Linked DNA regions of Homo sapiens: all the other regions are linked to region 1. Evidence: promoter capture Hi-C in 16 types of primary human blood cells and fetal thymus (Javierre and others, 2016). All regions are on one chromosome and are shown on one strand. Each heading gives the region's core, a stretch centred on a gene start or on the middle of the fragment in contact. The rest is flanking DNA. Distances are from core to core; before and after follow the strand shown. Region 1 holds the start of PPIL4 (peptidylprolyl isomerase like 4). Region 2 has its middle 12 kb from the start of TAB2-AS1. Region 3 has its middle 30 kb from the start of TAB2.

What was found. Contacts are between HindIII fragments. The CHiCAGO score rates a contact against its expected background, and 5 or more counts as called.
Region 2: a fragment that was not itself captured here is called in contact with the fragment with the promoter of PPIL4 in region 1 in 2 of 17 cell types (neutrophils and naive CD4 T cells); the score reaches 9.8 in neutrophils.
Region 3: a fragment that was not itself captured here is called in contact with the fragment with the promoter of PPIL4 in region 1 in 1 of 17 cell types (non-activated CD4 T cells); the score reaches 5.7 in non-activated CD4 T cells.

The regions. Positions count from the first base shown.
Region 1 is chr6:149,544,008-149,547,824 of GRCh38, reverse strand. It overlaps PPIL4 (peptidylprolyl isomerase like 4), which reads left to right and starts at 1,782. Exons shown (of 13, transcript NM_139126.4): 1 at 1,782-1,889. The coding sequence starts at 1,820. RefSeq lists enhancers at 213-889, 1,593-1,892. The HindIII fragment of the contact is 2,652 bases long and covers 894-3,545 here.
Region 2 is chr6:149,268,064-149,271,880 of GRCh38, reverse strand. It overlaps a transcript of TAB2 not described here. Among named protein-coding and RNA genes, the nearest start is that of TAB2-AS1, 12 kb to the right of the region's middle. RefSeq lists an enhancer at 433-532. The HindIII fragment of the contact is 9,013 bases long and covers 1-3,817 here.
Region 3 is chr6:149,285,830-149,289,646 of GRCh38, reverse strand. It overlaps a transcript of TAB2 not described here. Among named protein-coding and RNA genes, the nearest start is that of TAB2, 30 kb to the left of the region's middle. The HindIII fragment of the contact is 467 bases long and covers 1,754-2,220 here.

The sequences.
Region 1 (3,817 bases), core at 533-3,032:
AGGCGGAGGTTGTAGTGACCTGAAATCGCACCACTGCACTCAAGCCTGGGCAACAGATCGAGACTCCGTCTCAAAAAAAAAAAAAAAAACCCAAACCGAAAAACCATATTTATTCATTCAACAAACATTTATTTGCACATTGTGTACCAGGCTGTCATACGCATTAGGGATATAGCTTTAAACAAAACAGACAAGATGGAATATCCTGGAACACACATTCTAGTAACAATAAACAAACAAACAAATTCGTAAATAGCATGTTAGATTGTAAAATGTACTCTGGAGAAAAAGCTATATGGAGAAAAAGAAGTGTCTGTGGGGTTAATTTTAATTATGGCAGCCATGGAGGGCCTCACTGACAGGGTGACCGACGCCAAAGCGCCTGAAGGAGGTGAATGGGAGCCATACAAATAACTGGAGGAAGAGGTCCCTCAACCAAGGCAAGTGAAAAGGCCATGGGGCAGGAGTATGTCAGCAGTGTTCAGGGAATAGCAAACTGTCTACTGTGGCTTCAGAGGAATAAGAAGATGGCGTAGGATGGGGTAGGAGAGGATCTTGTAAATCATTATAAAAGCTCTGGCTTTTCCGCCAGGTGCGGTGGCTCAAGCCTGTAATCCCAGCACTTTGGGAGGCGGAGGCGGGCGGATCCACGAGGTCAGGAGGTCGAGACCATCCTGGCTAACACGGTGAAACCCGGTCTCTACTAAAAACACAAAAAATTAGCCGGGCGTGATGGCGGACACCTGTAGCCCCAGCAACTCGGGAGGCGGAGGCAGGAGAATGGGGTGAACCCGGGAGGCGGAGCTTGCAGTGAGCCGAGATCGCGCCACTGCACTCTAGACTGGGCGACAGAGCGAGACTCCGTCTCAAAAAAAAAAAAAAAAAAAAAAGCTTTGGCTTTTCGTCAGATGTGAAGTTATTGGAGATTATGTGTAAAATGTCATAAGAAAGAGTGACAGGCTTGCCCAGAAGAGTGTCTGGGGAATAAACTTGCATGGCAAAATGTTAGTTTTGGCCAGGCGCAGTGGCTCACGCCAGTAATCTCAGCACTTCGGGAGGCCAAGGCGGGAAGAGTTCGAACTCCTTGAGCTCAGGAGTTTGAGACCAGTCTGAGCAACATAGTGAGACCACCTCCCCCGACCGCCATCTCTACAAAAAATAAAAGAACAAAATTAGCCGGGCGTGGTGGCGCGCGCCTGTGGTCACTTGGGAGGCTGAGACAGGAAAATCGCTGGAGCCCGGGAGGTGGAGGTTGCAGTGAGCCGACATCGCGCCACTGCACTCCAGCCTGGGCAACAGAGCGAGACCCTGTCTCAAAACAGAAAACAAAACAAAATGTTAGTTCTTAGAATCGGAAACCCCTAGTAGAGGCCCAAAGTTGTTTTGCGAAAAGGAGACTGACGAGGAAACCCGGAGGAGTCCGCCCAAATAGGTGGAGAGAAGATCCCGCCGCGGGCGCCCCCTGGTGGATAAAAGGGCCGCGCGGAGGGCCGCTCTGCTCTTGAGACGGACACAAACGGGGCACAAAACACTATACTGAGACCGTTCTGAGGGACAGGCTTCCACCAAAATCGCCAAGGGCGGACCAGGATTTTCAAAACGGCCGCGCCGGGGGCGGGACCAACCCGATCCGTAAGTCAGCTGGGCAGCCCGGCGCCCGCACGCCGACCGGAAGGAACTGCTCGGAACCGGGGGCGGCGCCGGCGAGATGACGCAAAAGGGGTCGCGCCGAGGGTGACGCGTGGCGTAGACGACGCCGTCGGCCTGCGCCTGTCACCCCCCTCCTCCCGGGGTTTGTAGCGGAGGAGGAGCGGGCGCCATGGCGGTTCTACTGGAGACCACTTTAGGCGACGTCGTCATCGACTTGTACACCGAAGAACGGCCGCGTGGTGAGGCTTGAGCCCCACTCACCTGTCGCCGGGGCCCCCGAGCTTGTCTCCCTACTTTCCCTTCTCTGCGCAGTCCAGGGCAGAGATTGGCTAGAGCTCGAGCTTCTGGGCTGCTGGTGCCCGCGACTGGGCTATTTTATTAACCGGCCTTGGCTAGAAAAGTTTTTGTGACGGGAATTCGTTTGAGCCTTGGCAGCCCTTCTCCCGTATTTTGTGTTGGCCAGTCCGGTGGACGGTGCTTGCGGTCATTAATTGCCTTTGGGAGTGTGTGTGTGGGGCGTGTGTGTGTGTGATTCGAGCTGCACATACAATACCCATAGCTTTTGTGCCTTTATTGTGTTTACTCGTGAGAGGAACATAGGAACTATTGCTTGGTGTGTAATCGGTTAAATCTTGATGAAGGCAGTTAGGGTGTGCTTGGCGCAGCGAGTGTGGGCATACCGCTTAGGTGGAGGAGGAAGAGGTTGTCTGGAGTGTGGACTGAGCCTTCGAGGCACTGGGCTAAGTCCTGGGCTTGGCTTCTTGCCCCCGAGGGTCTGATTTTTCCACTGGGGGAAGTAGACACAGGAACCCATTTTAGTTTTCTATGTGTTATGGTAGAAGAATGTGTAAGTTGCCACGGAAACCAGAAGAGGGCGGCTTCTTTGGTGGGGGGTGGGAAGAAGCAAAGCTAGCGAATACTATATAGAACACTTGAACTAGTTCTTTCAAAGATGAATGGGAATGAGGGTTTTCTTAGCTTGGACTTTCTTTGTTTGGAATTTTCTGGAAACGGCAAGTAGTTTGGTGTGGCTGGAAGGACTGGTGTGAGTCGTGGAATGGTAGACTCGAGTGTGGTCAGATACGCCTAGGTCAGTCGTGAATAGTCTTGTGTGCCCTACTGATGATCAGAGTCCTTGAAGACTTTAAAAGCAGGATTGAGGCATGGCATACTTGTTTTGAGAAGATAATAGGCAGCGGTGTGGAGAATGTATCAGAGTCAGGAAGAAACTGAGACCAGGAGAGATTAGTTACAAACAGGGTCCTACCCACATGGAATGCAGAGCCTATCAAAGAAGGTGAAATAAGTTGCAATATTGTACAATAACTACCTCCTGCCGTGCTCCGCTTTCCCTCGCACGCAGCTATTCCTCCCTCCTCTCCACCTGGCGAAAACACTACAAACTCTCCCGTACCATTGTTACCATTCTTTTGCTGTTTCTTCTAAACAATATTCTTCTCCACTATTGTCCTTCTGGCAAACTTACTACTTATTATCTAAATCTCAGATCAAGCATCATCTCTTCTTTGAAGCTCTCCCTCCTTTCTAAGCAGAGTTACCTGAGGGTTCCTCTGCTGTGTCTTAGGTCTTTTATAAACCACATGACACATTTTATTTTAACATTTACCTATTATCCTGGTGTTGTTTACAAGCGTGCCCTCGCTCAAGAATGTAAACTCCAATGAGAGCAGGAACTATACCATAATTATCATCTCTATATCCTGAGTACCCAGTACAATGTCTGCTACTTTTAGGGCACACACTAGAGGTTCATTATGATGACTAATGGATATAAATGTGTTGTATTAGTTAGGACCCTTTGTTCAAGTGATAGAAACCCAACTCAAACTGGCATAAACAAAATAATTGGTTGCCTCATAATACTGGGGTAAGCTTGGATCGAGTGGCTGGATCGAGTGTTTCAAAGAATATCATAGGGAATTTTGTTTTTTATCTCTTGATTTTGCTTTTCTTTGAGTTCCTTTGACGCTCTGCCCATGTAGAGTAGCACCTGGCAAAATAAATGGGCCTCTTTTCCCAGAGTTATGAGGAAATAAAGGGGTGTAGAGCTACCCCACCCAATTAACAAGCAGTGGGTCTGCAAAGATAAGCCCATAACAATAAGTCCACCCCCTGTACATATTTGTAAGCATATGACTGGAGATGT
Region 2 (3,817 bases), core at 583-3,082, 280 kb after region 1:
GCAAAGGAACATCTTATTCAACTTTCCGTTAACCTCAAAAGTAACTTTGAGTTTGCAAAAGGCAGCTTCTGCTTTCTGGTTGTCCGTGAGTATGAGTAAGAAGATCTGATTTTAGTTACCACACCTCCATTTCCTCTCTATGCTGGACTGCTATGTGATCCCCTACGTAGACTCTTCCATAGAGTAGGGTTTTAAGCAGAGCACATGATTGTCCAGCTAAATAGTTCATTTTCAAGTTTTCTGAGCAGCTAGCTGTAGATAGGTAACTAATATGTGGCCAAAAGGATGTTAGTAACTTCTGGGTCATGTCCTGTAACTTCTGGGTCATGTCCTAAAAAGGAAGTAGCTTGTGCTCTGCCTTCTCTTTTCACTCAGGTAGAAATGCAGATAAAGTGAGAGTGAATTAACTTTAACTAACAGATGAGAACAATAGGCCCGAGGGTAATAGAGCCACAGGCTAGAAAGAACCTGGGTCTCTGGATGACCTCATGGAGCAGAGCTTTTTTCTTACCCTTAGGTAAGATTAAGTTATGTACTAGCACACCAATGAAATTATTTACATCCCTAGAACAGGAACCCTGTCCATTATTTTTATGTGTGTTTTACAGAGCAGGAGTTTCCAAACACAGTCAGGTCAATAATATTCTTTTTTAAAAAATATATATATTTTTTAGAGATAAGGTCTCACTCTGTCACTCAGGCTGGAGTACAGTGGGGCAATCATAGCTCACTGCAGCCTCTAACTCCTGGGCTCAAGCAATCCTCTTACCTAAGCCTCCCAAGTAGCTAACAGTAATATTTTTGACAGTATTTTCAACTAAGTCAAAATGAAAAAAAAAAGAATAAGGTGCAGAGAGATAGAGCGACATGGCAGCAGATTCATTCCAACTTCAGGGCTTTCATTATTATACCACCCCGTAACCCTCTGACTACCCAGTTTTTTGCAACAGCAGTGGATCAGTAATACTTCTCACTCTTCAAGACCAGAATCCTTCAAGACAGTACCTCCTCTATGTCATCTTCACCACTCTTTTATGTGATACACTTCCTCTAGATCCAAAAAAGAGAAGAAACTGAAAGACAAAGCTGGGCGAGTTGACCATGTGTACGTCGGAGAGGCTTGCCCCAAGCTCTGGATAATACATCACTGGTGCCATGTGCATCTGTGATGAAAATGTGCAAGGTCTGGATTCTAAATGTTGTTTTAAAAATGTGTTAATTTTTACTTTTTAAATTGACAAGTAAAAATTATATATATTTATGGTGTAAAACATGATGTTTTGATAGATGTATAGATTGTAGAATGTTAAATCTAGCTAATTAACATGTTCATGACCTCATATACTTATCATTATTTTTGTGGTGAGAATACTTAAAATCTACTCTCTTAGCGGTTTTGAAGTATTCAATATACTGTTATTAACTATAGTCATCGTGCTATACAATAGATCTCTTGAACTAAAGAAAAAAAGGAATAATGCAGTGGTAAAGAAAATGAAAAGCCACAGACTGGTAAGAAGTACTTGCAAAACATATATCTGATAAAGAACTAGTGTAAAGAACTCTCAAAACTCAATAATAGGAAAACCATAGAGCCCAGTTAAAAAATGAGCAGAAGAATTCAACCAACATTTGATCAAAGAAGCTACATGGATGGCAAATAAGCACATAAAAAGATGTTTTACATCGCTAATAATTAGGGAAATGCAAATCAAGACCACAAATACCATTAAACACTGAATTGGAATAGCTAAAATAAACAAAAATCAACATTATCAAACATTAGCAAGAATTTGGAGCAATTGGAACTCTCATCTATTGCTGATGTGGCTGCAAAATGGCACAGCCCTTTGGAAAACAGTTTGGCAGCTTTTTGTAAAGTTAAATGTATGCTTGCTGTAGGACCCAGCAATTTCTTTCCTAGGTATTTACCCACGTGAAATGAAAACCTATGTCCACACAAAAATCTGTATGTGAATCTTTATATTGACTTCGTTTGTAATCACCAAAAACTGGAAACAACCAAATGTCACTCAGTTGGGCAATGGATAAACAAAATGTGATACATTCATGTAGTTGAATACTACTTAGCAATAAAAGAAACGAATTACAGATATATGCAACAACATGGCTATATCTCATATATACCAAGTGAAAGAAGGCAAAGACCTTATCCTGTATGATTTCACCTTATGAAACGAATGATACATGATAATCTTGCAAAGGTAAAACTACAAGGACAGATAACCAATCAATGGTTGCCAGGGGCTGGGGTAGGGAGAGGAGTGGATTGCAAAGGGGTGAAAAGGAATTTTTTAGGGTGATGTAACTGTTTTACTTAACTATTGCATCCTGGTGGTGGTTACACAACTCTATACACTTTTCAAAACTTGAAGAACTGCACAATAAAAAGGGTAAAAATCTACTTTAATCTTCTGTAAATTGAACCTTAATATAAAAAAGGAAAAAAGAATAATATAGTGAATTTTTAATAAAAGTATTCAATTTAAAAATGGTATCTATCACATACACATAATTCATAGCACTAGGTTGTTGATAACCTAGCGTAACTTCTTTTACCACGTCAAATAGGAGAAAATAGGTCCTAGGCTGTGAGGCTTTGGCTTGTTGAAACTCTGCTATTTACAATTTACTCAAAGGATGTATCATTTTATTCGCAGCACAAAGGCTAATGAAACAGCTTTTATTTAGGTATTATGCCTCAGACTCAATTTTCAACAACCTTAAATAAAAACAATGTTATGTCTTTGTAGTCCCAGAGAATGCTAATCAATTCAACTCAATATCCCTGAGTATACTTATGTATTGCACAAGGAACCTAAGATTCAGAGGGGATAAAGGAATAGCAAAGGTTCCACAGCAGGAGCCCCTTGTACTTTGATAAAGATTTGGAGGGTTTCCAGCTCCCAGACTCATGCTTAGTCCACTAGGTCACTTTGAAAAGTAATTTGATATGAAAAAGATCGACTCATTCTGTAGCTAAGAGAATTGGAAACAACTACTGTACTGTGTGTATGTTTTATAAACAAGTTTTTATTACACAAGCAGTATATGTTCACATGTTTAGTGTGGAGAAATTAGAAAAGATAGTCATATACAAGAAATTGCAGACACAATGAATGCATACTCCACCACAGCAAGTGTCGAGAAATTCTCTTCTTTGTTACATATACGAAAGGAAGAAAATAAATATGATTTGCTAGGCAGTGGTTCTCCATGTATGCAAAGACACCTCGTGTTATTATTTTAAGGTGTTACACTGATGTTACACTAAGTCCAATTGCTCCGAGAATTTATCCAATGCAAGGATCTCACAGTCATCATAAATGTCAACATTTTCCTTCCACATGCAGCTGTTCTTTGAGTCTCTGTCTTGCTCTCTCTCTATAAATGTGGTTCATGAAAATGATGAGAATTAGAACATTCATTCTCACCTCTTCTGTAGTCTACCTAGGACATGAGTTTTAGGTGGGCTCATGGCCACTCAGAATGTTATTTTTCTCCCAGCTGGATGTGGACCACGTGACTAACTTCTGGATGTGCTTTTTCTCTTTTTTGTTGCTGGAATGCTAATGGGATGGCTGGGGTGGAGCAGCCACAGTGGACCGTGATGCGGAGCTAAGACTAGCAGAACAACCGAGAAGGAGCCTGGGCCCTTAGCACTATGGATGGAGGGCCACATCAGCCCTTGAACTGATGACGTCTGGGTTTCTTTTTGGTGAGCAAGTGCCTTCATGGTTAAGCCACTACCATTTTGACTTTTCTGGTACTGAAAGCCAAACCTAACTCTAACTAG
Region 3 (3,817 bases), core at 738-3,237, 260 kb after region 1:
TGTGTAGTTTCCGGGCATAGGCCCAGCAAGGGGCCCAGTGGCTGGAGTGGACTGGGTGAAGAGAGAGTTGGAAAATGAGGTCAGGTCAGGCAGGACTGTGATTCTCCACGTGGCTGCATGTGGGAAACACCTGTTGAGCTTTTAGAGGCCTCTAGCCCAGGCCCTGACTCACAGTCTCTGGCTTTAAAGGTCTCCCCAGTGATCTATGAGGGACTTTAGGCCATGGTAAGGACTTTGGCCTTTTTTTTTTTTAGAGACAGGGTCTTGCTATGTCACTCAGGCTAGAGTGCAGTGGCATGAACATAGCTCACTATGACCTTGTTCCCCTTGGGCTCAAGCAATCCTCCTGCCCTTGCCTCCCAAAATGCTGGGATTACAGGCATGAGCCACTGCACTCTGCCTGATTTTGCCTTTTATTTTGAGCTAGATGGAGGCCATTGGATGGTTTTGAGCAGATACATGATCTATCTTTTAAAAAGAATCACGTTGACCTGGCATGGTGGCTCACACCTGTAATCTCAGGACTTTGGGAGGCTGAGGCGGGTGGATCACTTGAGGCCAGGAGTTTGAGAGCAGTCTTTCCAACATGGCAAAACCCCATCTCTACTAAAAATACAAAAAATTAGCTGGGCATGGTAGCGTATACCTGTAATCCTAGCTATTCTGGAGGTGGAGGCATGAGAATTGCTTGAACCCAGGCGATGGAGGTTGCAGTGAGCCGAGATTGCACCACTGTACTCCAGCCTGGGAGACAGAGCGAGACTCTGTCTCAAAAAAAAAAAAAAAAAAAAATTAAAAATTAAAAAAAATCACTCTGGTCCTCGTGTTGAGGGGCAAGAGCAGAAGCAGGGAACCCATTGCCTTAAAATAAAGCTATTTGTGTGCAGTCTTACAAAGAACTAATGTTAGTTCAAGTGACTCAGCAGAATATGATTATAAGACATCCTGTAAGTCCTGCTATCAAGTATTGCTTAGTACTTATAAAGTGTATTTCAAGTTCCTTCATGCATAGTACAATTGCAGTATTTGAGAAGTGTTCTGGAGTTAAGCTTTTCACTAATTGGACTTACTTTTTCTGCAGTAGTTGGGGTTGGTGAGGTTTTGGGGAACAAAGAGGAAAAGACCCTTTTCCTGATGTTGTGGCAGTGCCACATCCCTCTCCCTTATCATTCACATCTCAGGGGGCTGGGAGATGGGCAGGACCAGAGAAAAAGGACCTGGTGACAGACAACGGGGCCACAGAGGAGCAATGTCTGCTTGCTGCCGTCTCCTGGAGGGGTGCAGAGTCTACAATGGGGCAGGAGGCCCATAGTCTCTGTGCACTTGTAACTCTGTTCTCTGCTAATTTGCATTGAGATGAATGGACAGGCAGAGGGAACCATGATAACATCTACTCTACTAAGCAGATCCTGGTGTGGGGACTGAGTGACACAAGGACCATTTTACTGGGATATTTGCACCTCAGGTTCGTCATCTGGAGATGATAGTACCATTTTGTAAAGTGTCTTGAGCATTTAGAAGATAGTCCACATATGGTAGTTTGCATAGTACTAGGCCCATAGTAAAGGTTTAACAATATTTACTGTTATCATGCTATTTCTTTATTGCTTATGTGTTTAAAAATTTAACAAATCATAAGCGTAATTTAATTCTTTGCTTAACATAATTTTATGATCGAATTTAAACATTTCACGTTTTTAGGAGTGCATCAAAGCTCCAAATACTATATAGTGAGAAACGATTTAGTGAAGCTTTGCCATATTGAGATTAATGCTTAAGACCTCCTTATAAATAACATGCCCCATGCATAGGTGCTTAGGGCTTTTATTTATGAATCCACTTGAGCAAATGTTCAGCACTAACCTGCCTTTTCCTGAATTTCTCTCCACAGGGAATAGTGATATGTGGCAGTTTAAGAATGCACAATGTCTTTATTTTTAACACATACAAAAAATAAAACTAGGCACAGTACCACATTGAAAACAAGTTCAGTAACAAACTGACTGAGAGCGGCCCTGTGTTTTGTCTGCTGGCTAGGAAGTTAATATATACATCAGCAGTTTGGATTCAAAGAAATGCCTTTACAACAACTTTTAAAAAGCAGAATTCATTGACCATTTGAAAAAGTCACAATTTTCTAATACTTTCTTTTTAAAAAAAAAAACAGAAAACAAAGTTTGCTTGTTATATTCCCTTGTAACTTTATGTGTAGGGGAAGCTTATTATTTCTACCGATTTAATATTTCTGGGAGCATTTCTAGTTCGGGCATAAATGTACACAGTTCAGGGCTTTCTCCAGCTTTATCTATTTGTTTTTCAAACAGTGCTTATTGTTTCTCTATTATAAAAGTAATACATGCTCAATGTAGAAAAACATAAACAAGCAAACAAAACTCACCTATAATCCTTTCACCTGTTGACTCATGTCAATATATTGTTTTGCTTTCAGTCTTTTTTCAGTATACACTTTTTGTGGCTACAGAGTTGAAGGTAAACAATATCTAAATTTTTTTGTTTTTGTTTCGTTTTTGAGATGGAGTCTTGCTCTGTCACTCAGGCTGGAGTGCAGTGGCTCCGTCTCGGCTCACTGCAAACTCTTCCTCCGGAGTTCAAGTGATTCTCCTGTCTGAGCCTCCCGAGTAGCTGAGATTACAGATGCTTACCACCATTCTTGGCTAATTTTTTTATTTTTTAGTAGAAACGGGGTTTTGCCATGTTGGCCAGGCTGGGCTTGAACTCCTGACCTCAGGTGATCCACCCACCTCAGCCTCCCAAAGTGCTGGGATTACAGGTGTGAGCTACCGCGCCCAGCCAATATCTAAATTTTTTAAGTCTCCTTTTTTCCCCTTAATATTATAAGTATTTTCTCGTGCTGCTAATAATTCTTCATTTTTAAGAGCTGCTAAATATGCCAACGTATATTGAAATCATAGCTTGATACTCAGTGAATCCCCTATTGTGATAACTGAGTCTACAGGTTTTGTTATTATAGATAATGCAGTGATGAACGTTTTTGTGCTTAAACCTTCTGTCAGATTATTCCCTCCAGACTGGTTTCTGGAAGATGAATTAATGAGTCAAAGCATCTGAAAGCTTTTAGGGGTTGTGATACATATTGGTAAAGTTCTCTCCAAAAAGTTTGAACCAGTTCGCACCTGTGGAAGTGCTTCAAAAGATGATGGGCTCTCTGGCTTTAATTTTAAAGGGATTTATAAAATGCTTTCCTCATCCTGTTTGAAGAAGCAAAGTAGAATAATATCAAGTATTACCAGTAACCTAGAAAAATTAAATTACCATAAAAAGAAAATAGTTGTCTTAGATCTACAGAAACAACTTGTATAGAGATGTGCACCATATCAATAATATTTGAAAATAGTTTTTCATATTCTGTGCATATATTGCATATGGAAGTCCATTGATACCAACTGGAATTTCTTCTAACTCGCAAATCTTAAGACCATGACGTTAATAACAATTAAATAGCAGTGTGTAATTAAGTTTGAAAAACTTGATTGGAACTACTTACTTGATAAAAAGATACTTTTTTGGTAGTGTATACCTCATTTTTAAAAAAGAATAAATTATTTTAAAGAAACACTAAAATAATTTATAAAATATATTTGTGGTCCTTTTCTTTCCCTGGAAATAAAAGTAAAATTTAGTTGTTTTGAACTTCATAGTGTATTCTTTAGAGCAGTGGTTCTCAACGTGCGTTCTCAGAGCGGCAGTAGATGCATCACCTGGGAACTTGCTAGAAATGCAAATTCTCAGGCCCCATGACCTCATGAATCAGAAACTCCAGGGAGGTGCCAGCAAT